Linked DNA regions of Homo sapiens: regions 1, 2, 3, 4, 5 and 6 are each linked to region 7. Evidence: promoter capture Hi-C in 16 types of primary human blood cells and fetal thymus (Javierre and others, 2016). All regions are on one chromosome and are shown on one strand. Each heading gives the region's core, a stretch centred on a gene start or on the middle of the fragment in contact. The rest is flanking DNA. Distances are from core to core; before and after follow the strand shown. Region 1 overlaps LOC124904701 (hepatitis A virus cellular receptor 1-like). Region 2 holds the start of FXYD3 (FXYD domain containing ion transport regulator 3). Region 3 overlaps LOC105372383 (a long non-coding RNA gene). Region 4 overlaps HPN-AS1 (HPN antisense RNA 1). Region 5 has its middle 9.1 kb from the start of SDHAF1. Region 6 overlaps HPN (hepsin). Region 7 holds the start of DMKN (dermokine).

Region 1 (3,384 bases), core at 843-3,342, 420 kb before region 7:
TGTTGACCTGCTTTATTATTGATGATTCCAATACTGCTACTAGTTACTAAGGTCATTCCCTGTGTGCTAAGTGCTTAATAATATTATTATTGGCTGGGTGCGGTGGCTCACGCCTGTAATCTGAGCGCTTTGGGAGGCCGAGGCCGGCGGATCACCTGAGGTCAGGAGTGTGAGACCAGCCTGGCCAACACGGCGAAACCCCATTCTACTAAAAACACAAAAATTAGCTGGATGTTGTGGTCCACGCCTATAATCTCAGCTACTTGGGAGGTTGAGGCAGGAGAATCGCTTGAGCCCGGAAGGAGGAAGCTGCAGTGAGCCGAGAAGGCGCCACTGTACTCCAGCCTGGGCAACAGAGCGAGACTCTGTCTCAAAAAATATATGTATTATTATTATTACTGTCAGCACTATTGACTTTTTAAAATATTAGCCATCACTTATTGAGTGCATAGCCCCCACTACACACTTTGGCAATGTAATAGTAGTAATAATAACAATAATCAAAACAGCTCATTTTATTTATCATTAATAGGTACAAGACTCTGTCCTAAATGTTTTAGCATTGTGGTCAGTGCTATTTTTTGTTTATTTTTATTTTTTTATTTTTATTTTATTTATTTATTTATTTTTTTGACACAGGGTCTTGCTCTGTTGCTGGGGCTAGAGTGCACGGGCGCCATCTTAGCTCACTGCAGCTTCAAATTCCCTGGCTCAAATGATACTCCCCCTCAGTCACCTGAGTAGCTGGGACTTCAGTTGCGTGCCACCATGTCTGGCTAATTTTTAAATTTTTTGTAGAGATGAGGTCTGACCGTATCGCCCAGGCTGGTCTCAAACTCCTGGACTCAAGGGATCCTTCTGCCTCAGCCTCGCAAAGTACTAGGATTACAGGCATCAGCCACCACACCCAAACCATTTGTATTATTTTGATGGCCAACATTTGAGTAGTGATCACACATCAGGTCCCATACTGCTAATAATAATAATTAAAATGTGGCCAGGCGCGGCGGCTCATGCCTATAATCCCAGAACTTTGGGAGGCTGAGGCGAGTGGATCACCTGAGGTCAGGAGTTCTAGACCAGCCTAGCCAACATGGTAAAACCCAGTCTCTACTAAAAATACAAAAATTAGCTGGGCGTGGTGGTGTAGCAGGACGAGCTGCAGACAAAACCCCTCAGACACTGAGTTAAGGAAGGAAGGGCTTTATTTGGCCAGGAGCATCGGCAAGACTCACGTCTCAAAAAACCGAGCTCCCCGAGTGAGCAATTCCTGTCCCTTTTAAGGGCTCGCAACTCTAAGAGGGTCCACGTGAGAGGGTCGTGATCTATTGAACAAGCAGGGGGTATGTGACTGGGGGCTGCATGCACCAGTAAGAACAGAACAGAACAGGACAGGGATTTTCACAGTGCTTTTCTATACAATGTCTGTAATCTATAGATAACATAACTGGTTTGGTCAGGGGTGGATCTTTAACTACCAGGCCCAGGGTGTGGCGCCGGGCTGTCTGCCTGTGGATTTCATTTCTGTCTTTTGGCTTTTACTTCTTTCTTTGGAGGCAGAAATTGGGCATAAGACAATATGAGGGGTGGTCTCCTCCCTTAGTGGCAGGCACCTATAATCCCAGCTACTCGGGGGCTGAGACAGGATAATCACCTGAACCCGGGAGGCAGAGGTTGCAGTGAGCCGAGATTGTACCATCGCACTCCAGCCTGGGGGACAAGAGTGAGACTTCGTCTCAAAAAAAAAAATTTTAAATGTATTGGGGGCTGGGCACAGTGGCTCACACCTGTAATCCCAACACTGTGGGAGGCCAAGGTGGGCGGATCACTTGAGGTCAGGAGTTGGAGACTAGCCTAGCCAACATGTCAAAACCCTGTCTCTACTGAAAAATACAAAAATAAGCCGGGCATGGTGGCACATGCCTGTAGTCCCAGCTACTTGGGAGGCTGAGGCACAAGAATTGCTTGAACCCAGGAGGCAGAGGTTGCAGTGAGCTGAGATAACACCACTGCACTCCAGCCTGGGTGACAGAGCAAGACTCCATCTCAAAAAAATAATTAAATGAATAAGCTAAAATATATTGGGTATTTACTTTGTGTTCATGCCTGGGCTAAGCATTTTATGAATAGTAATAATAATAATAATGGCTAATATATTAAGAGTTTGGGCATTTACAATGTGCCTTGTGTAAGCATATTAAAATAATGGTGATATTAACAATAATAATGGCTGGTATGTACCAGGCATCTGCTGTATTGCTGTGCTAACCAGTTAATGATATATAATGATAACCATCGTGAACATATTTTGGTCATTTGCTGCGTGTGTAATCCTGTCATCGGGATAAAAGGTAATATTTTCTGAGTGCTTATTATGCCTTGAGCACTGGGCCAGCATGTTATTAATAATGGTATCAGATATATGTCAAGAACTTGGTTACTGTAGGCCAGCTGGGTGGTGAGAGCCTCATGCGTATGACCGCACTGACCTTCAAACAGCCCTTTGATTGCCTCCAATGTGCAGAGGGGGAAACTGAGGCTACAGGATGCACAGAGATCTCAAGGGACAGAGCTAGGTCTGGACTCCAGGTCTCTCTGACCCCAAAATTGTGCTGCTAATCACTAGGCTGTGCTTTCCACTGAGAGAAAGCAGGTGTCACAAGTTTGCTGCCCTCTGGGTAAGGCAGTAGCCTGTCATGATGGTCAGACCCCCAGCTGTTGAATCTGGGCATGGCATTCCTGCCCATCCCATGCTGAGCCGGCCCCTGAGCCTCTGCTCTTCTGGGTCAGCTGCCAGGCCAGCCTCGGGCCTCCACCAGGCCCTGTTTGGGTCCACCTGGGCTGGGCTGGGCAGGGCATGCTGATCTGGCCTCCGACCTGGTCTGGCTGAACCGATGCACCCGCCGCTGCAGCTGTGACAGAACGGGGCATTTCCGCTGCAGCCCGGCGTGCTGCCCCACTGGGAAGATCTGTGGTCTGCAGGGTGGCCAGCTGGGCTGCCAGAGCCCCCTGGGCACCTGCATGGCCACTGGAGATCCTCATTACTTCACCTTCGATGGGGCCATAGCCCACTTCCAGGGCACCTGCACCTACCACCTGGCCTATGCCATCCATCCATTCATCCATCTATCATCCATCCACTCATCCATCCTTCCATCCATTCATCCATTCATCCATCCATCCATCCATCCATCCATCCATCCATCCATCCATCTATCCACTCATCCATCCTTCCATCCATCCACTCACAAAATTTTTCTGAGTATCTACTTTGTAGCAGGCCCTGCTGTAGGCTCTGGAGACACAGCAAAGAACAAAAGAGACAGGTCTCTTCTCTCCTAGAGTGCACATTATAATAGTGAGAGACAAACAGTAAAAAATAAA
Region 2 (3,951 bases), core at 1,452-3,951, 400 kb before region 7:
ACCTAATCCCCAATAGGGTGCAAGTGACTGCACAAACTCTACTCCTCACAGCCCTTCCTAAGACTCAGTGTGCTCATCACACTAGGGTCTCAGAGTCCTTCTGACCATAAACCCAAGCCCCAGCGCCAGCCCAACACACACTTGGACGCAGCATGTTCACGTCCAGCCTAGGAAGAATTTATGGTTGACCTGGATTGGGTAAAAACCGTAAACGTCTGTACCTCAGAATGTAAGATCATGGTGTTTAAAACTACAGAACATTCAGAGGTTGTCAGAAGTCTCTAATTGCTGGTCCCCCAGGTTGAAACCAGCCCTTAGGTTGAAATTTTGACCTGCAAATTTTTTTTTAAATCTGAACCAAATTTTTTAAATTAAACCCCTTTAAGGTAGTACATTTTCAAGATGCAAAATTCAAAAAATATAAGAGGGCACGTGATAATGAGTGAGTCTCACTTCCACCCCACCCTCCAGCCTCCCAGTTTCCCTCTCCAGAAGCCATGGGTATGGATGCCAATCTCCAAAAATATTTTATTCATTACAAGTATATACATATGCATTATTTTACCGCTCACAAATGGTAGCACACTGCACGGTTTCCCAATACCTTGTTTTTTTTCCCCTTAGCAAGCTGTCTGGGAAATACTTCTGTATCTAACCACGGGCAGGGGTGTTCCTCCAAGATTTTTAGACAACAGTTCTCCAGTTCACCCCGTTCCGGTGAAGGGCAGAGCACCCCCCGCCCTTCCCAGCCACCCTGTACACGCCCCTACTCGCTCTCGGATGCCTGCAGTTCCCAGGCTTCCCAGCAGAGGGAGACACCATTCCACTCCCAAGACCACCAAGGGGTCGTCCCAGACACAAGCTTCAAGGGTCTAGGGAAGAGACGCTATCCGCCCAGACACAAAGACCCCCCTTAGCTATACTGAGTTGGCCTCCGGGCCTCCCCTTCCTGTTTCTATCTCCTCCTGGACCTGTTGCTTAGAGCCCTACCCCGAGGTCCCCCCGCCCGGCTTCCTTATGGGAACTGGCCCCGCCTTAAGAGTGGTAGGAGGGAGCCTTACCCTTGTCTAGGACCTGGGCTTGACAACTTGCCCCAGGGAACCACATAGAGAAGGGGTGTAGCGCTGGGCGAACATTGCCCTCCCCGATCCCTCAGCGATGACAAGTGGGGGGTCCTTCTCTCTGCCCCCAGCAGGCCAGTTTCCGGAAGAGCCTTGACCCAAACCCCCTTTTCCTGTCCTGTGCTCCACACTCCCAGCAGCTGCTTCTCCCTGGCCAGGCCCTGCAGCCCTCCTCCCCGCCCCCACGGTGGTGTTGGGGTCGCCTGGAGTCCAGCTGGTGTCCAGGGCAGAGCTACCCCTTTCCTGGCCCTACCCCTCCCCGTGACCCCAATCCTCCGCCAACCGCTCAAAGGATCCTTGTTCTCCATCCAGCCCCCAGACAAAAGTCCCTCTGTCTAAGAAGGCGGAATTGAGGGGAGGGGGCACCCCCAACTGGGACCATGGGGGAGCCTGCACAGACCCCATCCGGAAGGAATGCCTGGAGGAGGAGGAGCAGGAGACAGGGGAGGAAAGGGGGAGGGAGGCTTGTACAGTGCTGGGGGCCTTATGTGGACTAGGAGGCAGCCGCCCCCACCAGCACCCACTCTGTAGACCCAGGCGTCTGGCTCCCAGCACCCACGGAAAGAGCCTGGCTAGGAAACTGCAGCCTGGTGCCTGGCAGACAGTTCTCATTCTCCCCAGGGCAGGGAGCAGGTTATGACCAGGACTAAGGTCCCAGAGTCCCCACCCTGACCCCTCCCTGCTGTTCCAGCCGCTCCCTCATATCCACCCCTGCCCCATCTCCTGACTTTGGTCACGCTAGCATCTTCTGCTGATCCTGAAATTGTACCAGCGGCAAGATGTGGCCTGGAAGGGGACTTTAAGTTCTCCACAACTGCCAGCAATCCTTCCACCAGGCAAAACACATCATCTAAGGAAAAGAAGTGAGGTCGGAACACCAACGCATCATCTCACTGCATGGCCCTGGAGGCTCTGCCGTTTAAAGACCCCAGAACCTTCCCCATTCAAGGTCCTCTCCTGGGCACAGGAGATTGGAGAAAGCTCCTCCCTTAATTCCAGGGGCCGAGTTCCAGCCCATCCAATTCTCCGTCTCACCTGAGGCTGCTGTGGTCCTGGTGACCCCAGGGAGCAACCTGCCGCCCATGGCTGGGGAGGGGGTGAAGCTGTCTCTTTAAGAGCAGGAATGGAGCCCCTGGGCCTCAGGGCATCTGACTTGTTTTCTACCTGCCCAGGTTTGCTTAGGGCGTGGCAGCTTCGGATAAACGCAGGACTCCGCCTGGCAGCCCGATTTCTCCCGGAACCTCTGCTCAGCCTGGTGAACCACACAGGTGAGCAGCTGGGGCCCCTTCCTCCAAGCCCTCCTTGTCTCTGCCCCTAAATTAGGAAGTATCTACCTGCCCCCTGACCCTGCCCCATAGAAGCTTTTATGTTAAAGCGCCTAAAATCTTGTGAAATGCTTTTCTGGAGCCAGGAGATAAACGGAAGTCCCTTCCCCTAATGTCCCTTTCCCCACCATTCTCCTCTCAGGGACTTGTTGAACCAGCTGAGGTGAGGGCAGGACTGATAAGTGTGGTTGGGGTGTCTGAAAGACTAGTGTCTGCATGGATTAGGGATATCTGGGTTGGGGATAGCTGGGTGGAGGAGAGGGGGTGCCTGGGTAGGTAGGGGTATCTAAGTGGACCAGGGGTGCGTAGATGGACTGGGGACATCTGGGTGGATGAGGAATGCTGGGTGGACTCGGGGTGTCCAGACATTGAGGGATCTGGGTGGATAAGGAGTGCTGGGTGGACTCGGGGTGTCCAGACATTGAGGGATCTGGATTCTGGAGACCTCCAGGAAAAAAGGATGGAGCTGCTGGGGGAAGCTTTAAATGGGGAGTTGCTTGGGAGATTTCAGGAGCACACAGCGGGCAGGATCTTTCTACCCACCCCTGAACATGAGACCATTCTCCCATGGTATGGAGGAATAGAGGGGATAGCAGAGGGCAGGTGGGGGAAACAGTCCTCAGGCCGGCCTTGGGACCTCATGGCCAGGAAGGATGAGAGCAGGTAGACAGAGCATCAGCTGCAGGGCTGCCTTCCTCTCTAACCTGCTCACCAACCACATCAGTTCGGGAGCAGCCCACAGCCTCTTCAGACAACAGCCTGAATGGGGAACGTGAGGGCAGACCCAGCTCCCGGCTCCCTGCAGCCTCCGGAAGCATGGGACTGGACGTTGTTTTGCAGAGGCTGGGGCGAGGAGGATACCATCTGTCAGTCTTGGCTGGATGACATCATGGGAAGGGGGTATAGTGGGGCCTTGCAGGCCAGAGGTGGCTTGGAGGAGCCCCTGGAAAGAGGCTTAAGAGGTGAGACTCAACAGCCATGGCGACAGAGCATAGGGCTTTAAGATGAATTTGCAGGGGTTACAGGATTACAACTGCAATGTGGGCTAATAATAGTGCCCCCTGCATTAAGCTGCAGAGATTGAGCGAGTAAGTGGGAAGCTGAGAAAATGCCCCCATGGGGTAGACACTCAATAAGCATCTGCTGTTATTACCAGGACTCGTATGGTCATGGGTGACAGCTTCAGACCACAGGCAGTCCACCTACAACCTGTGCCCCTATCCAACATGCCATCCTGCCCACCCACCCACGCCAGCTCCCCCAACCCCCAACACTTTTGGGGATCCTAAACACTTCCTGGGCCTCAGTAATGCTCCCCAAAGCCTCAGGCTTTCTTCCCGCAAAAAAAGGAAAAGAAATGGATGCTCCAACTAAAATTGTGAGTTCAGCATGTGGAATTAACTGGGAAGCTGAGAGGATTCCCAGGCCCTGGGGTGCCAGGCAGAGGGAGGAGTCTGTGCCAACCTGCAAGGACCACCCGCACCGTTGGTTGCGGGCACCACCCT
Region 3 (3,681 bases), core at 937-3,436, 450 kb after region 7:
GTACCTGGGACTACAGGCGTGCACCACCATGCCTAGCTAATTTTTATTTTTTGTACAGACAGGGTCTTGCTATATTGCCCAGGCTGGCCTCAAATTCCTGGGATCAAGCAATTCACCTGCCTCAGCCTCCCAGACTGTTGGGATTACAAGTGAAAACCACCACCCTCAGCCTATAATAATATTGTAACGATTGCTTTTCCCTGGGGAGAGGGGCCGAGACCAGAGCTCAAGTCTCTTGCCAAGCTCACACAGCTAGAAAGTGGCAGTGTCTGGATTTGAACCCAGGTCTGTCTGTGTCCACAGTGCAAGCTTTTAACCACCTTTTTGGTTGTGGGGGGTGTTGTTTTGTTTTGTGTTTTGTACCACCTTGCAAAGACTTATAAAGTAGTCTAGACTTATGTGCTAAGTGGCAAGTGCTTTTATAAATAATGTACATACATTATATAATGTTCTCTTTACAGTCATCCTGGAGATGGGTCTTTTTGTTATCCTCATTTCATAGAGAAGACAGTTGAAGGTTTAAGCCATGAAATCACTGCCCAAGGCCACATGCTGAACAGATGTCAGCTTTGAACCCCAAGCCTGCTTGGGCTGCTGGGAAACAGGCATGTTGTCTCAGAGGGCACCGCGCTCGGCGAAGACTCAGCGAGACTGGACGCTGACCATGGTTCTGAACACACTGTGCTGCGGGACCTGGGCTTTTCCTGTAACCCTGAAATCCCATTCAACCTCTTACGGTCCTGAGAAACAACGGAAGACCAGGGAGATGAGAGAAAAGTGAGGGAATGCTGAGAGAGAGAGGCTGGGTTTCTTAGAAATGAAGACAAGGACTTCAATTCATTTATTTATAACAGCTCAGAGCTGGACTCTGGAGCCAAGAGTCCTGGATGCAAATCCTGCTCCAAGCTGTGTGATTCTGCATAAGTCAATTCATTTCTCTGACTATCTACTTCCCCTCTATTAAAGGTGGATAATAGTATGAACATCATAAGGTTGTTGTGGCATTTTAAATTAAATTATTTATTATTCCTATTATTATTTAATAGAAATAGAGATGGGGTCTTGCTATGTTGCCAGGCTGGTCTCAAACTCCTGGGCTTAAGCAATCCACCCACCTTGACCTACCAACACACTTGGATTACAGGCATGAGCCACTGCACCTGGCTCTAATTTTTTATGTTTATTTATTTATTATTATTATTATTTTTGATATGGAGTCTCACTCTGTCGCCCAGGCTGTAGTGCAGTGGCGCAACCTCGGCTCACTGCAACCTCCGCCTCCCAGGTTCAAGCAATCTTTCCACTTCAGCTTCTCTAGTAGCTGGAACTACAGGTGCCTGCCATCACTCCTGGCTAATTTTTGTATTCTCAGTAGGGATGGGGTTTCATCATATTGGCCAGGCTGGTCTTGAACGCCTGACCTCAAGTAACCCACCTGCCTCAGCCTCCCAAAGTGCTGGGATCACAGGCATGAGCAACCGCGCCTGGCCTTATTTTTATTCATTTATTTATTTATTTATTTATTTATTTATTTATTTATTTTGAGATGGAGTTTCATTCTTGTTGCCCAGGCTGGAGTGCAATGGCAAGATCTTGGCTCACTACACCTCCACCTCCCAGGTTCAAGTGATTCTCCTGCCTCAACCTCCCAAGTAGCTGGGACTACAGGCACAGGCCAGCACACCCACCTAATTTTTGTATTTTTAGTAGAAATGGGGTTTCCACATGTTAGCCAGGATGGTCTTGAACTCCTGACCTCAGGTGATCTGCCCATCTCGGCCTTCTAGAGTGCTGGGATTATAGGCATGAGCCACCACACCCAGCCTTTTTTTTTTAATTAAAAAAAAAAAGTAGAGATGGGGCCTCACCATCTTGCCCAGGCTGGTCTTGAACTCCTGGGCTTGAGTGATCCTCCTGTCTTGACCTCAGAAAGTGCTGGGAGTACAGGCGTGAGCCACTGCACCCTGCCAGCGTTTTTTAAATGACTTCATAGAACACTGTCTGGCATGCAGTAAATATTTGCCAGTATTACTTTGCAGCAATTTTTTTTTCATTTTCTTCAGGCTAGGCCTGTTCTAGGCACTGCAGATGCAACAGTGAACAACACAGACAACATCCCTGCCCTCAGGGAGCTGACACTCTAGCTCAGTCCATACGAAAACTCTATATTCCATCTTTTTTTTTCTATATTCCATTGTGATAGAAAATATGCAAAGTTCTACAGAACACAAGATTATTCTTAAAAGTTCACTTTGGGGTCAGGTGTGGCGGCTCATGCCTGTAATCCCAGCACTTTCGGAGGCCGAGGTGGGCAGATCACCGGAGGTCAGAGTTCGAGACCAACCTGAGCAACATGGCAAAACCTCATTTCTACTAAAAATACAAAAATCAGCCAGATGTGGTGGTGCATGTCTGTAATCCCAGCTACTTAGGAGGCTGAGGCATGAGAATCTCTTGAACCCGGGAGGTGGAGTCTGCAGTGAGCTGAGATCACACCACTGCACTCCAGCCTGGGTGACAGAGTGAGACTCTGTCTCAAAAAAAAAAAAAAAGTTCACTTTGTAGGTGGCTAGCTTCGTGCACTGATAGCAATGAATAAATAACATCCCTTCCTGGGAAGAAGGAAGGAATATATGTCTCCAGTTCCCCACAGCATACACACATGCGCACGCACACACGCGCACACACACACACACACACTCTCACATCCTACCCTCAAGTCTGCTTAATGTGGCAAGTTGAAGTCCTCGATGGCCAGAATCAATGCACCATACATTTGCACTGGCATAGAGATGCTCACATAATTGAATCTGGCTGTCTTCAGATGCAGCCTGTGCTCTCGAGCTCCCTACAGACCTATTCTACACCCAGGCCGTGCTGATCATTTTGTCCCTCAGTCCCACTCTTTTCTTTCTGCTGATACATACAGACCCAGTTTATTTTAAATTGGGAACACTGATAGCTTCTGAATGTTGAGTTTCCAGTGCCAGGGACCCTGGAGGCCCGGGGTATGAAGGCAGGTCGGGGATGAGGCTAAATTCCAGGATCCAATTATATTGCATCCTTCCCTCATCTCATCTCTAAATATTTTGACTGAGGAGGAAGTGAGCCCTTTCATAGAGTCCCATCCCCTCCTAGTCTTCCCTGGTGATGCCACTCCAGTTCCAGGTCTCCTGTGAGGGCCATACATGCTCTGATGGGACCACATGTCAGCTTGTGAAGCACAGACTTAAGTGTGTGGCTGGGCACAGTGGCTCACACTTGTAATCCCAGCACTTTGGAAGGCAGAGATGGGTGGATCACTTAAGCTCAGGAGTTGGAGACCACCATGGGCAAAATGGCAAAACCCTGACTCTACAAGAAATACAAAAATTAGCCAGGTGGCATGCACCTGTAGTCCCAGCTACTTAGGAGGCTGAGGTGGGAAGATGGCTTGAGTCCAGGAGGTGGAGGTTGCAGTGAGCTGAGATCGCACCACTGCACCTCAGCCTGGGCAACAGAGCCAGACCCTGCCTCAAAATAAAAAAGAAAAAGAAAAAAGAAAAAAACAAAAAACAAAAAAGTAATTTAAAATCTAAATAAATAAATAAATGAAAAAGGCCTAAATGTGTGCCCACCACTCAGGTCACATGTGAGTCTGAGACCTTGTCCAGTTCCAAGATGGCAGGACTCCAAAACACC
Region 4 (3,502 bases), core at 453-2,952, 440 kb before region 7:
GATTAAGAAAGTAAAGGAATAAAAGAATGGCTACTCCATAGACAGAGCAGCCCCGAGGGTTGCTGGTTGCCCATTGTTATGGTTATTTCTTGATTTAGTCTTGATTTATTATTTAGTTATGCTAAACAAGGGGTGGATTATTGACGCCTCCCCTTTTTAGACCATATAGGATAACTTCCCAACATTGCCACGGCATTTGTAAATTGTCATAGCGCTGGTGGGGGTGTAGCAGTGAGGACAATCAGAGGTCACTTTCATGGCCATCTTGGTTTTGGTGGGTTTTCCCGACTTCTTTACTGCAGTCTGTTTTATCAGAAAGGTCTTTATGACCTGTATCTTGTGCCGACCTCCTCTCTCATCCTCTGACTTAGAATGCCTTAATTTACCGGGAATGCGGGCCAGCAGGTCTCCGCCTTACTTTACCCAGGTCCTATTTAAGATGGAGTTGCTCTGGTTCAAACGCCTCTGACAGCCATTCTGAGTTCTGTCTGCACTGTTGCTTTGTTGGAGGAGTGGAGGGGCTGGGGAGATTGTGATTCACTCAACAGCCATTCACTGGTTTCCCTTGTATGCCAGGGGTCAGTGAGCCTCAGTTTCTCCTCCTGCTCCCAGCAACCTTGCCACTCACCCCAAAGAGCTAGGAAGATATTTAAAAAGAATAATAACAGTCACAAGGTTGCTTTCAGTTCCTGCCAGGGTCTCAGTCTTCAGAAAAGCTGAATATGAAAATTACTTCCATGTCATTGTGGTGCCGCTCAGAATCAGAAATATTTGACCCATCTTACAGAATTAGTGCAACTACATCAGGAACCCAAGCCAAGTTTTGCATTCCTATTTAGCATTTATATCTACATAGTCCTTTTCAAATATAGAAAAGCTTTCTGGATGTTAGTTGGAACAGATAGCTCCATATGTGGTTATAAGTTGGCATTCTCCCAGCTGGGTTGAAGGAGAAATGTACAGCTACTCTGCCACAACAGTTATTTCATACATAAAATCACAGCCATGATTAGCAATGATGGTGAAGGCTATTCATTTTATATTCAGAAATAATTATTGTGAACATTCAGATAGCAGCATAAGTAGGGAGATGGACTTTAGTTTCTGCATAAAAAGTAACACTGTTTCAATCCTGCAGTTATGAAGCGAGGAGCTGTTTTGGCTCTTGCTGCATGACATACCACCCAAAGCTAGTGGGTACAGTAAATGCTCATGGATTCTGCAGCTCAGAAAGTTGGACAGGGAACAGCAGGCACAGCTTGTCTCTGCTCCCTGATGACCAGGTCCTTAGCTAGAAAGCCTAAAGGAACAGGGACTGGAATAGGGAGGCTTCTTTTGTTTGTTTGTTTTGAAACAGGGTCCCACTCTGTCGCCCAGGCTGGAGTGCAGTGGTGTGATCATGGCTCACTAAAACTTCTACCACCTGGGCTCAATCGATCCTCCCAACTTAGCTTCCCAAGTAACTGGGACTACGGGTGTGTGCCACCATACCCAACTAATTTTATTTTTTTTTTGTAGAGATGGGACTGGTTGCCCAGGCTGGTCTTGAACTCCTGGGCTCAAGTGACCCTCCTGCCTCGGTATCCCAAAAGGAGGCTCTTTACTCACAAGTCTAGTATCCGGGCTGGGATCACTCAAAAGCTGAGCTCAGCTGGTACTGTGGACTCATTGTCTGGCTAACTTGGGCTTCCTTCCAATATGGCTACCCAAGGACATTTGAACTTCTCACGTGGTGGCTCATGGCTCCAGAGTGAGCATTCCAGCAGACACTGGCCTTTACACCCCAGCCTCATTTCTGCTCCACTCTGTCAGCTGAAGCAATCACAAACCTGTCCAGACCCTAGAGGAGGAGATGGAGACCCCACCCTTTGGTGGTGGAAGGCAGGTCAAAAAATTTGGGGCCACATCTTAAAACTGCCCTAGGAGCTTATGGACTATCGGAGCAAATTAACAGCTGACAAAGCAGAGAAATGATCCCTCAGTAAGGTGTTCAACCTGAAATATTTCCCTGCTAAAATTGTGGATAATAAAATTATGACAGTAATAACTTTTTAGAACACTTTCACATTTGTTCTTACATTACAGAAGTTCATTCTAAGAAGGTGATAGTCAGCTTTGGGCAAATCTTTAATTTAATACTTCACTAATTAGCATTTGGCCACAATGCCTGTTTCACTTCTAAATAATAATAATAATTTATATTAATAAACATATCCATGCATATTTTTGAGCACTTCCTATGTGACAGGTACTGTACTGAGAGTTTTATACATGTTACTTCAGTATTTCCCCAAATTCAGATGTTTGAAAGTGGCTGTCTTAATTTTTGCTATTCATTCATTCAAATAATATTTATTAAGCACCTATTATGTGCCAGACACTGTTCTAGGAATTGGAGAAATATAGGGGACAGGACAAACCAACTTTATGGAGCTTAGGGGCAAACAAATACCGCTGGTACTACTTGTATTGTTTTATTCAAATTATCTCTTTTCCTTTTGTGTGTGTGTGTGTGTGTCTTTTTTTTTTAAGCTTAGCCTTGACTTTATTTATGTATTATTTTTATTGATTTATTTATTTTGAGACCGGGTTATGAGACTGGCTAATTTTTGTATTTTTGATAGTGATGGGGTCTCGCTATGCTGCCCAGGCTGGTCTCAGACTCCTGGGCTCAAGCGATCCACCTGCCTTGGCCTCCCAAAGTGCTAGGATTACAGGCATGAGCCACTGTGCCCTGCCAGCCTTGACTTTAACAATAATGTTTATGAAACTGTGGGTTTGAGGCCGGGTGCAGTGGCTCATACCTGCAATCCCAGCACTTTGGGAGGCCGAGGCGGGTGGATCACGAGGTCAGGAGATTGAGACCATCCTGGCTAACACGGTGAAACCCCATCTCTACTAAAAATACAAAAAAATTAGCCAGGCATGGTGGCGGGTGCCTGTAGTCCCAGCTACTCAGGAGGCTGAGACAGGAGAATGGCGTGAAGCCGGGAGGTGGAGCTTGCAGTGAGCCGAGTTTGCGCCACTGTACTCCAGCCTGGGCGACAGAGCGAGACTCTGTCTCAAAAAAAAAAAAAAAAAAAAAAAGAAACTGTGGGTTTGATGTGGCGGTGGCAGATATATGTTTTTCAATATAAATCAAAACAAATGTATTAAATAAACAAATGCTAGTGAAATAATAACAATTCCTTCTTCACTGCCATCCTATACTCTCCCGGGGTTTCCCGCCAGCAGCCCATGTGCCGCCCTTTGGGAAACACTTGTTTCATCGCCATGCAAGCTGGGAAGGAGGGTCTGTGGGGTTTGCTGTCCTACAGAGGGGCTGCATATCCCGTCCAAGGTCCACCTCCGAGGGGCAGGGCTGGCGCTGGGGCCTGGGGCTGGAACAGCTCGGGATATGGCACTGAGCTCTCATTCCCAGCCTCTCTCTGCTGAGCAGGTTCGGACACTTTCTCCCTGGCGGGGTGGTGGGGGGGTCCCTGGACCGCTAGGGAAGTGCATG
Region 5 (3,493 bases), core at 787-3,286, 470 kb after region 7:
ATTATTATTATTATTGAGACAGAGTCTCATGCTGCTGCCCAGGCTGGAGTGCGATAGTGTGATCTCAGCTCACTGCAACCTCCACCTCCCAGGTTCAAGTGATTCTCCTGCCTCAGCCTCCCAAGTAGCTGGGACTACAGGCACGTGCCACCACGCCTGGCTAATTTTTGTATTTTTGGTAGAGACGGGGTTTCACCATATAGCCCAGGTTGGTCTCTAACTCCTGATGTCAAGTTATCCACCTGCCTCAGCCTCCCAAAGTGCTGGAATTACAGGGGGCCACCATGCCTGGCATCCACTTGTCATTATTAACCGCCATTGAGATTCCACTTACCCTCCCATTGACTCTCCATTGAATCCTCAATAGTCATCCTATTAACTCCCTAATTGAATCCCCTCAACCCACAGGCTCAGCCTCATCTCTGCATTGACCCTCCCTGTCATTGGACATCCCATTAATTATTTCATTGAGTCATCCATTGCCCTCCCCCAGCTGATCCTACTACGTTTGTTTGTTTGTTTGTTTGTTGAGACAGAGTCTCTCTGTTGTCCAGGCTGGAGTCCAGTGGCGTGATCCCGGCTCACTGCAGCCTCAACCTTCTGAGCTCAAGCAATCCTCTCACCTCAGCCTCCTGAGTAGTTGGGACTATAAGCACACGCCACCACAACTGGCTACTTTTTAAAATTTTTTGTAGACAGGGGGTCTCGCTATGTTGCCCGGGCTGGTCTTGAACTCCTGGGCTCAAATGATCTTCCTGCCTTGGCCTCCCAAAGTGCTGGGATTAGAGGCATGAGCCACCATACCTGACCAATCCTACTGCTGTTATACTGACTTGCCCATTAATCCCATTTACTGTCCTATTGACCCCACCCGACACCGTCCCGACCTCCCACACTGATGCTTTCTGAGCAGTTTGTTGACCTTCCCAGTGATCCATTGACTGGCCTATTAATGTCCTCATTTACCCCCTGTGGACCTGCCCATCAAGCCCCCACCCCTGCCATCTACTGATTCTCTACTGAGCTTCCTATACTGGATATGACTAACTCCTGCACTGCATTCCCCTGCTTTTCTATTATCCCTCTAATTGAGCCTCTCTTTGACTCATCTTCTCACCCTGTTGAGTTTTCTATAGTGTCCCATTCATTCATTGGCACACCTTCTCCTAGAGCACTGTCCAAGTCTCACTAGGCCCTCATTGATCATAGAGGCATCCTTCCCAGTAGGATGTTGCCCATTAACCTTGAACTGCCATCCACAAACCCAGCAGCGTTTGTCAGTCACTGACTACCCTTCTGACTCCACCCCCATTTACTCTCCAGGGGAGCCCCCATTGTCGCCCAAAGCCACTAAGCCTCGGTCCTCAGTGATCCACGGAGTTGTCCATCCCTTCCTCCATTGCCCTTTTCTAGATCCTCCCCTTGCCCCCCGCTGCTGGCCCCTCTTCACTGACTCTTATCCATTCTCTTATTGCCCCTCATTGAACTTCCACTGACCTCTCATCAACTCTGGCCATCCAACCACTCTGCCATGGATCCCCCTTTGAATCCTATACTGACCCCCCATTGAGCCCCAAGCTTACCTCCCACCAAATCCTCCTATGATCCCTAATGACTCCCCCCATTAACCAGCCACTAAGGTTCTCTTTGACCCCTCTCTGATCCTTTCTGCTGACTCCCCCACTACTCAGTGACCATCTCCTGCTGCTGTTCAACCTGCCTGCATGCCCTCTGTGTAGGTAGACGGAATTTGGGAATCGCTGCCCTTCTCTTATGGCCACCACCTCCACACCCAACTTTGGGGCTGCCAGCTGTACATGGACACAGACTTTGGCCTCTTGCTATGACTGGGACAGCCTGGCACTTGTGATGCTGCCATGGCCATATGGACCCTACCTGTGTAGACTCTGGCCCCAGTGACCCTATTACATCCTTGCCCAATGCCCGGAAGGTTGCTAAGTTGCCAGGTTGCAGCCAGGTCTGTGGGCCCCTCTGCCCTGGATTTTGCCAGATGGCCGTGCATGCCCTATTCACCAGGAATGGGCAGTGAGTGTGGCTGGCAGTGGCGGTGGATCCCTTGGAGCCCGGCTATGCAGCACTGTGACCAGGCCCATTCCTCAGCAAGTGCCTGGCCCACTGTGTGCCACCAATACAGCGCCCACTGAACCATATACTGGGCCCTGGCTGCCTACACTGTGGCTTGCAGGGCTCTGGGAGTCTGCCTTCTGTCACGAGTGTGCTTTCGAGAGAGGGGTAAGCTCTGAAGAGCCCTGACATGGGCCACCAGGGGACGGTCGCGTCAGGACCAACAGAAGTTCAGGCCTGGGCAGTGGGGCTAGGCGAGGAAGGGTGGGTACTGGAGAACAGTTAGGACCAGATTAGATGCGGCAAGACAGGCAGGGGTATGACTTGATTTGATTGGTCTGGTTTGATTAACAAGGTCTTTTTAAAATTTTTAACAATTTTTATAGAGACAGGGGTCTCACTATGTTGCCCAAGCTTGCCTCGAATCCTTGGGCGCAAGCGGCTCTCCCTCCTCAGCCTCTTAAAGTGCTGGGATTACAGGCGTGAGCCACAGCGCCCGGCCTGATTAACAAGGTCTTTCTGTCTTTTATGCCTCTTTTTTCGGTGTCTCTATGTCTCCTCCGTGCCGCTGGCTCTCTGCATGTCTCTCTTTCTGGACCTCCCTCTGCCCCGCCCCTTCCCCTGTTCCCGTTCCCCTTCTCTCGGTTCCTCGTTGTTTCTTCCCCGGGCACACCCGTGCTGCTCTCTGCGGGCATCCTCCATCTCCGCCTCCCCCATCCGACCCTGGCTATGTCTCCCCCACCTCTCTCTGTCTCTGTCCCTGACCCTCCCACCCCCGCGGCCCGCCCCAGCTTTGCGGTGCCCGCTGCGTTCGCGCTGAGCTGCGCGCTACCTGGCCACATGCGCGGGTGACAGCCCTGCCGGGAGCGCTGAGTATGCGGCCAGGGCTTCCCGCTGAGCGGCGCCTCTGAGTGCCCGCAGCCGAATGCGGCTGCTTCCTTGCAGGCGGACACCCACCGCTGGGCACCGTCTGGTACCCTGCCCCTGCGGCCCCCGCCCCCGCGCTCCGCCCCTGTGCTCTCCCTTGCTGGCCCGCACCATTCCCGGGCTCAAAAAAATAAATTAAAAATTAGGCGGGGGGGGGGGGGGGTGGTGCGCGCCTGTGTTCCCAGCTGCTCAAGAGACTGAGGTAGGAAGATCCTTAAGCCCAGGAGGTCGAGGCTGCAGTGAGCCATGGTGGCGCCACTGCACTCCAGCCTAGGCAACAGAGCCAGACCTCGTCTCTAAAAGAATTAAATAAAATTAAAAAGTGTATGTCTTTAAAAGATAAGGGTGTTTAGGCCAGGCACGGTGGCTCACTCCAGTGATCCCAACCCTTTGGGAGGCCGAGGCGGGCAAATCACTTGAGGTCAGGAGTTCGAGGACAGCCTGGGCCAACATGGTGAAACCCTGTCTCTATTAAAAACAC
Region 6 (3,634 bases), core at 1,002-3,501, 460 kb before region 7:
AGGAAAAGAAAAAAACTGAGGCTGAGGCTCAGAGAGGGGAGGGGAGTTGCTCAGGCCCACACATCTCTGATGATTTATAAAGCATTTATAGAGAACTTGCTATGTGCCAGGCACTTCCGCACAGTGAGAGCCAGGATGGCTTCGTGGCTGTACACAGGGGACCTGGCATCAAACCTGCCCAGGGTTCTGGACGCTGCTCTGCCTCTTCCAGGCTGTCACTGTGGGCACGTGACCCCACTTCTCTGAGCTATCTCAAAAACAGGAATCATAGTTGTGGGATTGAAATAAGGACTAAATGAGCTGATGTATTTAGAACGGTGCTTAGCACCTGGAGGCATCAATACAATTTGAGCTATTCTTCTTCTTCTTGAAAATAACTTTAAATTATTATTTTTAGAAGTAGGTGCTCAGTGGATGCCCATTTAATAGATAAGAAAGTTGAGGCTCAAAGATATGATGGCACCTGCCTTAGGTTCCAGCTAGGAAGGGGTAGGGTCAATATTTTTAAATGAGGCTGGCCAGACGCAGTGGCTCACTCCTGTAATCTCAGCATTTTGGGAGGCTGAGGAAGGAAGATCGCTTCAGCCCAGGAGTTTGAGACCAGCCTGGGCAACATAGCAAGACCACGTCGCTAAAAAAATTAATACATAAAATAAAATGAGGCTGGCAGATTTTCAAGTGGAGGGGCAAATTTGATCTTGCAACTGGGTACCATGAGAGAGGTCTGATTTAGGGGGTATCTAGGGGCAAAGCATCTAGAACAGCAGAAACGACTGAGGCAGCGAGGAAATGCCAGCGGCAGGGAAGAGAGCTACCAAGAGGGCAAAGGTTGGGGGTCACAGTCCCAAGAAGAGATGGCCCAAAGCAAAGACAGAAATACAAAAGCACAGTGTCACTGGGGAGGAGACATTCCCTAAGTGCCAGGAAAGTGCAGGGCGGAGGTGGAGACCGTGGCAGGTGGCCCGGCCATGCCCCCCTCCCAGCTGGAACCCTGGGGGAGCTGGGCACCTGGTTGTTCACACGGCAGGGGAGGAACAGCCCTGTCAACTGCTGGCCCCGGGAAACTGGGCCTGGGGAGGACATGCTTGGGCATAATAAGTTAGCCCTGGGGGCAGGGCAGAGCTGGCCTCGGGCCCAGACCCTGCCGCAATGAGGACAGGCCTGGCTGTGGCCCCAGCATGGTGTCTGTTGCAGGTGGCCGGACTGTGCCATGCTGCTCCAGACCCAAGGTGGCAGCTCTCACTGCGGGGACCCTGCTACTTCTGACAGCCATCGGGGCGGCATCCTGGGCCATTGGTGAGAGCGGTTCCTGTGCCTCTGACCTCCCCTGGCCCCTGCAGCCTCCAGCCTGCCTGCCCTCACCCCTCCCTTCTCTGCAGTGGCTGTTCTCCTCAGGAGTGACCAGGAGCCGCTGTACCCAGGTGAGTGGAGCAGGCTGGGACCCTCTGGGGGAGCCCTGGAGGACACGTGTATCTGGCGGGAGCTCAACAAGCGTATTTGTTGAATAAATGCACAAATGCATGCAGAAATGCTAATCATAATAGTGCATTTGTATTGAGTGCCTGCTATGTACCAGGCACTATTCTAAGCACCCCACATGTCTAACCCAGACTTTTTCAGACACCAGTGTATTACTCATGAGTGCCTCATAAAATTAAATTAGTGAGTTGGAAAACCATGTTTTTTTTTTAAGTATGAAATAGATTCGATTACAGACTATCACAGTACATCTCTCAGTAAGTAAAGGTTATGCTAATTTTTGTTTGTTTTTTTTTTTTTTTGCATCCATATACATGTAATCCCACTGCATCCCCACACTCTGAGGGTGGGACTGTTATTCTCCCTGTTTTACAGATGGGGAAACTGAGGCTTTGAGCAATGCAGCAGTTTGCCCCAGACTACAGAGCTATGGGCTACATCAGGATGTAAAAATGTGTTTCTTACTGCGTGGCATGGTGAAAACATGTTGGGGAGGCATGATATAAATTCAGTGGACCCTTCTAACTCTCCTAGGAGGTAGTTTTTTTGTTTGTTTGTTTTAAAAAAGAAAAAAGTCTTGCTCTGTCACCCAGGCTAGAGTGCAATGGTGCAGTCTCAGCTCACCGCAACCTCTGCCTCCCAGGTTCAAGCGATTCTCCTGCTTCAGCCTCCCAAGTACCTGGGAATACAGGCGTGTGCCACCATGCCCAGTTAATTTTTTGTATTTTTAGTAGAGATGAGATTTCACCATGTTGGCCAGGACGGTCTCTATCTCCTGACCTTGTGATCCACCCGCCTCGGCCTCCCAAAGTGCTGGGATTACAGGCATGAGCCACTGCGCCTGTCCCTGGTAATTAGCTCCATTTTACAGATGTGCAAAATGAGGACCAGAGAGGACATGCAGCTGGGGAACGAGGGGCCAGGAACAGCTCTTAGACTTATCCACTGTAAGTGTGTCTGCAGGCATGTGGAATGAATGGCCACACAAATAAATAGATAAAGAAACTAACTGTGGGATGAATGAATGAATCTTCCCAAATGCCAACTTCAAGCTGCCATTCCCTGATGCAGGACAGCAGGAAAAAAGGGGAAGTTGGGTGGTGGGATGTATTTTTCATGTCTGTGAGCCTCATCTAATTCCATAAAGGATTCAGTTCACACTAAAATCAGAAATGAAAATCCAGACAAGAAAAGCCAACATCAACATTAATCATCATTACCAGCACTTAGCATTTGTATGCACCAGCCAAGGCCTTGGGACCTTATGATATCAACTCATTAAGTCTTCCCAACAACCTGTTGTTTTTCTTTTCTTTTTTTTTTCTTTCTTTCTTTCTTTCTTTTTTTTTTTTTTTTTTTTGAGATGGGGTCTTGCTCTGTCGCCCAGGCTGGAGTGCAGTGACACGATCTTAGCTCATTGTAACCTACATCTCCTGGGCTCAAGCAATCCTCCCATCTCAGCCTTCTGAGTAGCTGGGACTATAGGCTAATGCCACCATGCCTACACAAAATTATTTTGTCAATAACAAATTATTGTTATTTTTATCTTTTTGAGCCAGAGTCTCGCTGTGTCGCCCAGGCAGGAGTGCTGTGGCGCGATCTTGGCTCACTGCAATCTCCATCTCCCAGGTTCAAGTGATTCTCCTGCCTCAGCCTCCTGAGTAGCTAGGACTACAGGCACGTGCCACCACACCCAGCTAATTTTTGTATTTTTAGTAGAGGCGGGGTTTCACCATGTTGGCCAGGATGGTCTCAAACTCCTGACCTCAGGTGATCCACCCGTCTCGGCCTCCCAAAGTGCTGGGACTACAGGCATGAGCCACCACACCCAACCTCATTTTTTAAATTTTTAGTAGAGATGGGATCTTGCTACATTGCCCAGTCTGATCTTGAACTCCTGAGCTCAAAGCAGTCCTCTCAGATCAGCCTCCCAAAGTGCAGGGATTACAGGTGTGCACCACCACAACCCATTTTCCTATGGGGATGCTGAGGCACAGAAAGGCTGAGTGACTTGCCCCAGGTCATGGAGCTAGTCAGTGTCAGGGCTGGGATTTGAACCCAGGCAGCCTGCGTAGTAACTGTATATAGTGTCTACACTTGATTGCTTGTTAAAAAAAAAAAAAAAGAACAGCTGAATTCATTGCCATAGTAAAGA
Region 7 (3,813 bases), core at 80-2,579:
TCCCTCCACTCCCCCATCTTGCTTTCCTCTTTGTCTTTCCCCAGCTCTCTGTAGCCTGCACCCAGTGGCTTCTTCATTTGTTCCCAGCCCCTTCCTCTTACCCCTTCATTCTGGTTGCTGGCTCTCACTGAACCATAGCCAGGCTGGGCCACAGCTCCCTGCAGAGAGGGTGAGACTGAGAGTAGGATCCAGAGGGACCAGGGAGGCACGCGGAGCATGTGGGCTTGGAGGGAGGGAGGTGGCAGGTAGCAGGTCTGGGGGTGACTTTACCTGAGTGTTGGTCCCAAAGTTTGGTGGCCCTCCATTGCCTCCTTGACCCCAGGGAGCTCCCTGAGGATTCATTCCAAAGCTGCCTGCTGAGTTTCCGGGGTATCCGTGGACCCACGGAGTCCCCAGACCTCCAGGATTGCCCTGGCCCTGGCCTCCAAGGCCACCTTGAGAGCCAAAGATGCCATGGCCTCCAGAAGTTTCCTGCAAGAACAACATACCTGCACTTAGTGGGACCATCTCTGACCCTGGTAGAGAAGAGCCAGGGCAAATCATAAAGAGACCAGGAGAGAGACAGGCAGAGGGACTCCAGGGTGGCATAGGAGGGGGGCAGAACATAGAAGGAAGCTGCCCCAGAAGCCTGCAAGTAAGAGATCCATCCATCCTTTCAACCGTTTCCCAAGAATCTCAGCCCAGCAGCCCACAGCCTCCCATTTCCACATGCAGCCCCACAGCCACTCACCCAAGCACCATTGTGGCCAGGCACCCCCTGCCAGGAGCCGCGGACAGCATCTGCTCCGTGTCGAATGACATCTTCTGCCTGTCTGCCAATCTCGTGCCCAGTGTTTCCCAGAGCATGGGCTGCTTCCCCGACCCTGTTGCCCAAAGCATCTGCTACGCCAAAGCCTGGAACCTGCCTGACTCCAGTGCCAACTGCTTCTCTGGTCCCTTGGCCAAGGGCCTCACTGACTTTAGAGCCAGCTGCCCCTCCGGCCTCTTTGCCAATGGCCTTTCCCACCCCTTCGCTCAGGGCGTCTCCCAGGCCATGTCCAAGGGCCTCCCCAATATTTGTCCCAGTGCTTTCCTCTCCGCTCTGCAGGGGGCCAGCCTCCCCACTGCCCAGGCAGAGGGCCAGCAGGAGGCAGGCCAGGGGCCCCTGGAACTTCATCTCTGCCCAGCCCCCTCTCTCTCCAGAGTGTCTTCCTCCCACCAGGGTCTCCTCCTTGCCGCCCTTGCTCTGCGTCTCTGTGCCCTCCTCTGTCCTCCTCCTTCCGACTCCCTGTCCTCCCTCCCTCTGGGTCTGCAGCCTTCTCTCTCCTGTCCTCAACTGCCTGGGCTTCTCAGAGTCCACCTCCCTGTCACTACTCCTTATACTCTAGGTTGGGAGAAGGTGACAGGGCTGGGCAACCTGAGGTCCCTCCCCGCAGTGACTCAGGGCCCAGCCACCAATAGGGTAATCAGCTGTTATTGTGAGTCTGAGAGTCTCTGTCGAAACAGAGAGTGAGCCGCATCAGGGAGGGAGGGAGAAATGGATGAGGTGATGCAAAAGTGCTCCCATTTCCCAACCCCAGGCATTCGGGGAGCTGGGTGGGGGCAGGGGCATCTAAGGAGACAGGTTGTCGTTGGCTCCTGGAGGCGGTGGGGTGGGGGCAGACTTAGAAGAGAGGAGTTACTGGCAGGACCCCACCAAAGGAGTAAGGACAGGGAAGCCCCAGGGGACAGGACCCACCCAGGCTCAGCCAGCCTGGCTCAGGGGCTCCAGAGTGACAGGCATTGCCCGTCCTCGGCCTGGCCTTTCTCGGTTTCAGCACCTCAGCCTCTCCTCTCCCTCTCCCCTCCCGCATTGCCACCTACAGGTGACTGCCTTCTTGTTCCTCCACACCTTCCAGCCCACAGAGAGAGACTGGCAAACACGGGGCTGCGTGTCAGTTTCTGAGATTCTGGGGAGAGCCCCCGGGGGGACCCTCGGTGTCGGGGAAGGAGGTGGCCATAGCCCTTTGAGTGGTCAGCAGGGTGTCTCAGCGTTCAGGCTGCTCCCGGCTGAGAAAGCTGGGCGCGGAGCAGGGCAGCCAGGCGCGCCAGCCACCCCCAGGGAACGAGTGGGAGGGAAGGCCAAGGGAGGGAGCCGCTGACCCAGGCACCCATCCTGTTTACGCAGCCCTAGAGGGGCACGTGTGAGTATAAGCGCCTATGAGGGGCGGGACTGGGCCAGCTCACCCCACCCATCCCCCAGGCCAGGGGCCAGGGCAGCAATGGCAAGCGAGAAGAGGGTAGCGCAAGGTCAGGAGCCATCCGTGAGAGCCACGGCCCTCTCCCCAGTCCCAGCTCGGGATACAGAACCTGGGAGCCTCCCCCCGCCTCACCCCTGCCCAGCAAGTGTGGCTGCTTCTCTATTCCCAGGGGCCACAGGGCCTCCCACTGTTTCGTATCACTGGGGTTCATCGCCCAGTTAGGAGGGGCCAGTTTCCATCAGCCTTTCTCAATGTCTCTCAGTCAGTCTCTCTCTTCTCTCCACCCCAATATCCGCACCCCAGCTTATAACATCCAACACTTCTTACCTTGTAAACACTATCCCCATCTGTCCTCCTCAGCTCCTACTTCCCTGTTATTCCATCTCTGACTCGTTAATGATGATAATAGCGATGGTGGTAATAATAATAATAATAATAATAATAATTACAGCTCCAGCTTATCAGCGGTTCTGTATGTACCCAGCATTGGACTAAGCACAAGCAGTTTAAGAATTATACAACTCTGGGAGATGGTTCTTTTTTTCTAGAGACAGGGTCTTGCCCAGGCTGGAGTACACTGGCACAATTGTAGCTCACTGCAGCATCGACCTCCTGGGCTCAAGCGATCCTCCTGTCTCAGTCTCCCAAGTAGCTGGGACTATAGATGCACACCAGCACACCCAGCTAATTTTTTTTTTCTTTTTGAGACAGAGTCTTACTCTGTTGCCCAGGCTGAAGTGCAATGGCACGATCTTGGCTCACTGCAACCTCCGCCTCCCAGGTTCAAGTGATTATCCTGCCTCAGCCTCCCAAGTAGCTGGGATTACAGGCGCATGCTGGGCCTGTAATCCCACGCTGGGCTAATTTTTGTGTTTTTAGTAGAGACAGGGTTTCACCATGTTGGCCAGGCTGGTCGTGAACTCCTGACCTCGTGATCTGCCTGCCTCGGCCTCCCAAAGTGCTGGGATTACAGGCGTGAGCCACCGCACCTAGCCTCCAGCTAATTTTTTAATTTTTATTTTTGTGGAGATGAGATCTTGTTGTGTTGCCCAGGCTGATCTCAAACCCCTGGGCTCATACGATCCTCCTGCCTTAGCCTCCCAAAGTGCTGGGATGACAGGCATGAGCAAACAGTGGTATTACATTATGCTTGCTGCAGCTCCTGCACTCTCTTTGTTTTTTGTTTGTTTGTTTGTTTTGTTTCGAGATGGAGTCTCCCTCTGTTGCCCAGGCTGGAGTGCAATGGCGCAATCTCGGCTCACTGCAACCTCCACCTCCAGAGTTCAAGCAATTCTCCTTCCTCAGCCTCCCAAATAGCTGGGATTGCAGATGCACACCACCATGCCCAGTTAATTTTTGTATTTTTAGTAGAGACGGAGTTTGACCATGTTGGACAAGCTGGTCTCGAACTCCTGACCTCAAGTGATCTGCCTGCCTTGGCCTCCCAAAGCGCTGGGATTACAGGCATGAGCCACCACGCCCGGCCATGTGCCCTTTTTGTTAAGAAGGAAGATTAGCAAGTATGAAAGAGGTGTTCTGACTCACCAGCACAGCTGGACATGGGGTCTTTCTCAAAGGTAGGTCCAGGCCTCAA

The links. Contacts are between HindIII fragments. The CHiCAGO score rates a contact against its expected background, and 5 or more counts as called.
Region 1: a fragment that was not itself captured here is called in contact with the fragment with the promoter of DMKN in region 7 in 10 of 17 cell types (naive CD8 T cells, total CD4 T cells, naive B cells and 7 more); the score reaches 9.8 in naive CD8 T cells.
Region 2: a fragment that was not itself captured here is called in contact with the fragment with the promoter of DMKN in region 7 in 9 of 17 cell types (monocytes, total B cells, naive CD4 T cells and 6 more); the score reaches 8.8 in monocytes.
Region 3: a fragment that was not itself captured here is called in contact with the fragment with the promoter of DMKN in region 7 in 2 of 17 cell types (M0 macrophages and erythroblasts); the score reaches 5.9 in M0 macrophages.
Region 4: a contact is called between a fragment that was not itself captured here and the fragment with the promoter of DMKN in region 7, in 16 of 17 cell types (naive CD4 T cells, naive CD8 T cells, M0 macrophages and 13 more). The highest score is 12.9, in naive CD4 T cells.
Region 5: a fragment that was not itself captured here is called in contact with the fragment with the promoter of DMKN in region 7 in 1 of 17 cell types (M0 macrophages); the score reaches 8.6 in M0 macrophages.
Region 6: a contact is called between a fragment that was not itself captured here and the fragment with the promoter of DMKN in region 7, in 10 of 17 cell types (naive B cells, M0 macrophages, naive CD4 T cells and 7 more). The highest score is 11.1, in naive B cells.

Annotation. Positions count from the first base shown.
Region 1 is chr19:35,091,265-35,094,648 of GRCh38, forward strand. The region is part of intron 1 of LOC124904701 (hepatitis A virus cellular receptor 1-like); the gene reads left to right. All of the region lies in intron 2 of HPN-AS1 (HPN antisense RNA 1), which reads right to left. Among named protein-coding and RNA genes, the nearest start is that of HPN-AS1, 13 kb to the right of the region's middle. The HindIII fragment of the contact is 6,053 bases long and covers 1-3,384 here.
Region 2 is chr19:35,113,971-35,117,921 of GRCh38, forward strand. It overlaps FXYD3 (FXYD domain containing ion transport regulator 3), which reads left to right and starts at 1,853. Exons shown (of 9, transcript NM_005971.4): 1 at 1,853-1,989; 2 at 2,294-2,389. The HindIII fragment of the contact is 443 bases long and covers 2,481-2,923 here.
Region 3 is chr19:35,963,086-35,966,766 of GRCh38, forward strand. LOC105372383 (a long non-coding RNA gene) reads left to right here. Exons shown (of 5, transcript NR_136525.1): 5 at 462-985. Among named protein-coding and RNA genes, the nearest start is that of LRFN3, 29 kb to the left of the region's middle. RefSeq lists silencers at 519-819, 569-769. The HindIII fragment of the contact is 3,759 bases long and covers 308-3,681 here.
Region 4 is chr19:35,068,982-35,072,483 of GRCh38, forward strand. The region is part of intron 3 of HPN-AS1 (HPN antisense RNA 1); the gene reads right to left. Among named protein-coding and RNA genes, the nearest start is that of HPN, 29 kb to the left of the region's middle. RefSeq lists an enhancer at 1-265 and a silencer at 1,650-1,850. The HindIII fragment of the contact is 1,655 bases long and covers 876-2,530 here.
Region 5 is chr19:35,984,335-35,987,827 of GRCh38, forward strand. No RefSeq gene overlaps it. Among named protein-coding and RNA genes, the nearest start is that of SDHAF1, 9.1 kb to the right of the region's middle. RefSeq lists an enhancer at 2,609-2,668. The HindIII fragment of the contact is 921 bases long and covers 1,577-2,497 here.
Region 6 is chr19:35,048,096-35,051,729 of GRCh38, forward strand. It overlaps HPN (hepsin), which reads left to right. Exons shown (of 13, transcript NM_001384133.1): 3 at 1,195-1,296; 4 at 1,380-1,421. Among named protein-coding and RNA genes, the nearest start is that of HPN, 8.2 kb to the left of the region's middle. The HindIII fragment of the contact is 5,328 bases long and covers 1-3,634 here.
Region 7 is chr19:35,512,320-35,516,132 of GRCh38, forward strand. DMKN (dermokine) reads right to left here and starts at 1,330. Exons shown (of 16, transcript NM_033317.5): 1 at 731-1,330; 2 at 271-471; 3 at 102-158. The coding sequence starts at 1,156. The HindIII fragment of the contact is 13,607 bases long and covers 1-3,813 here.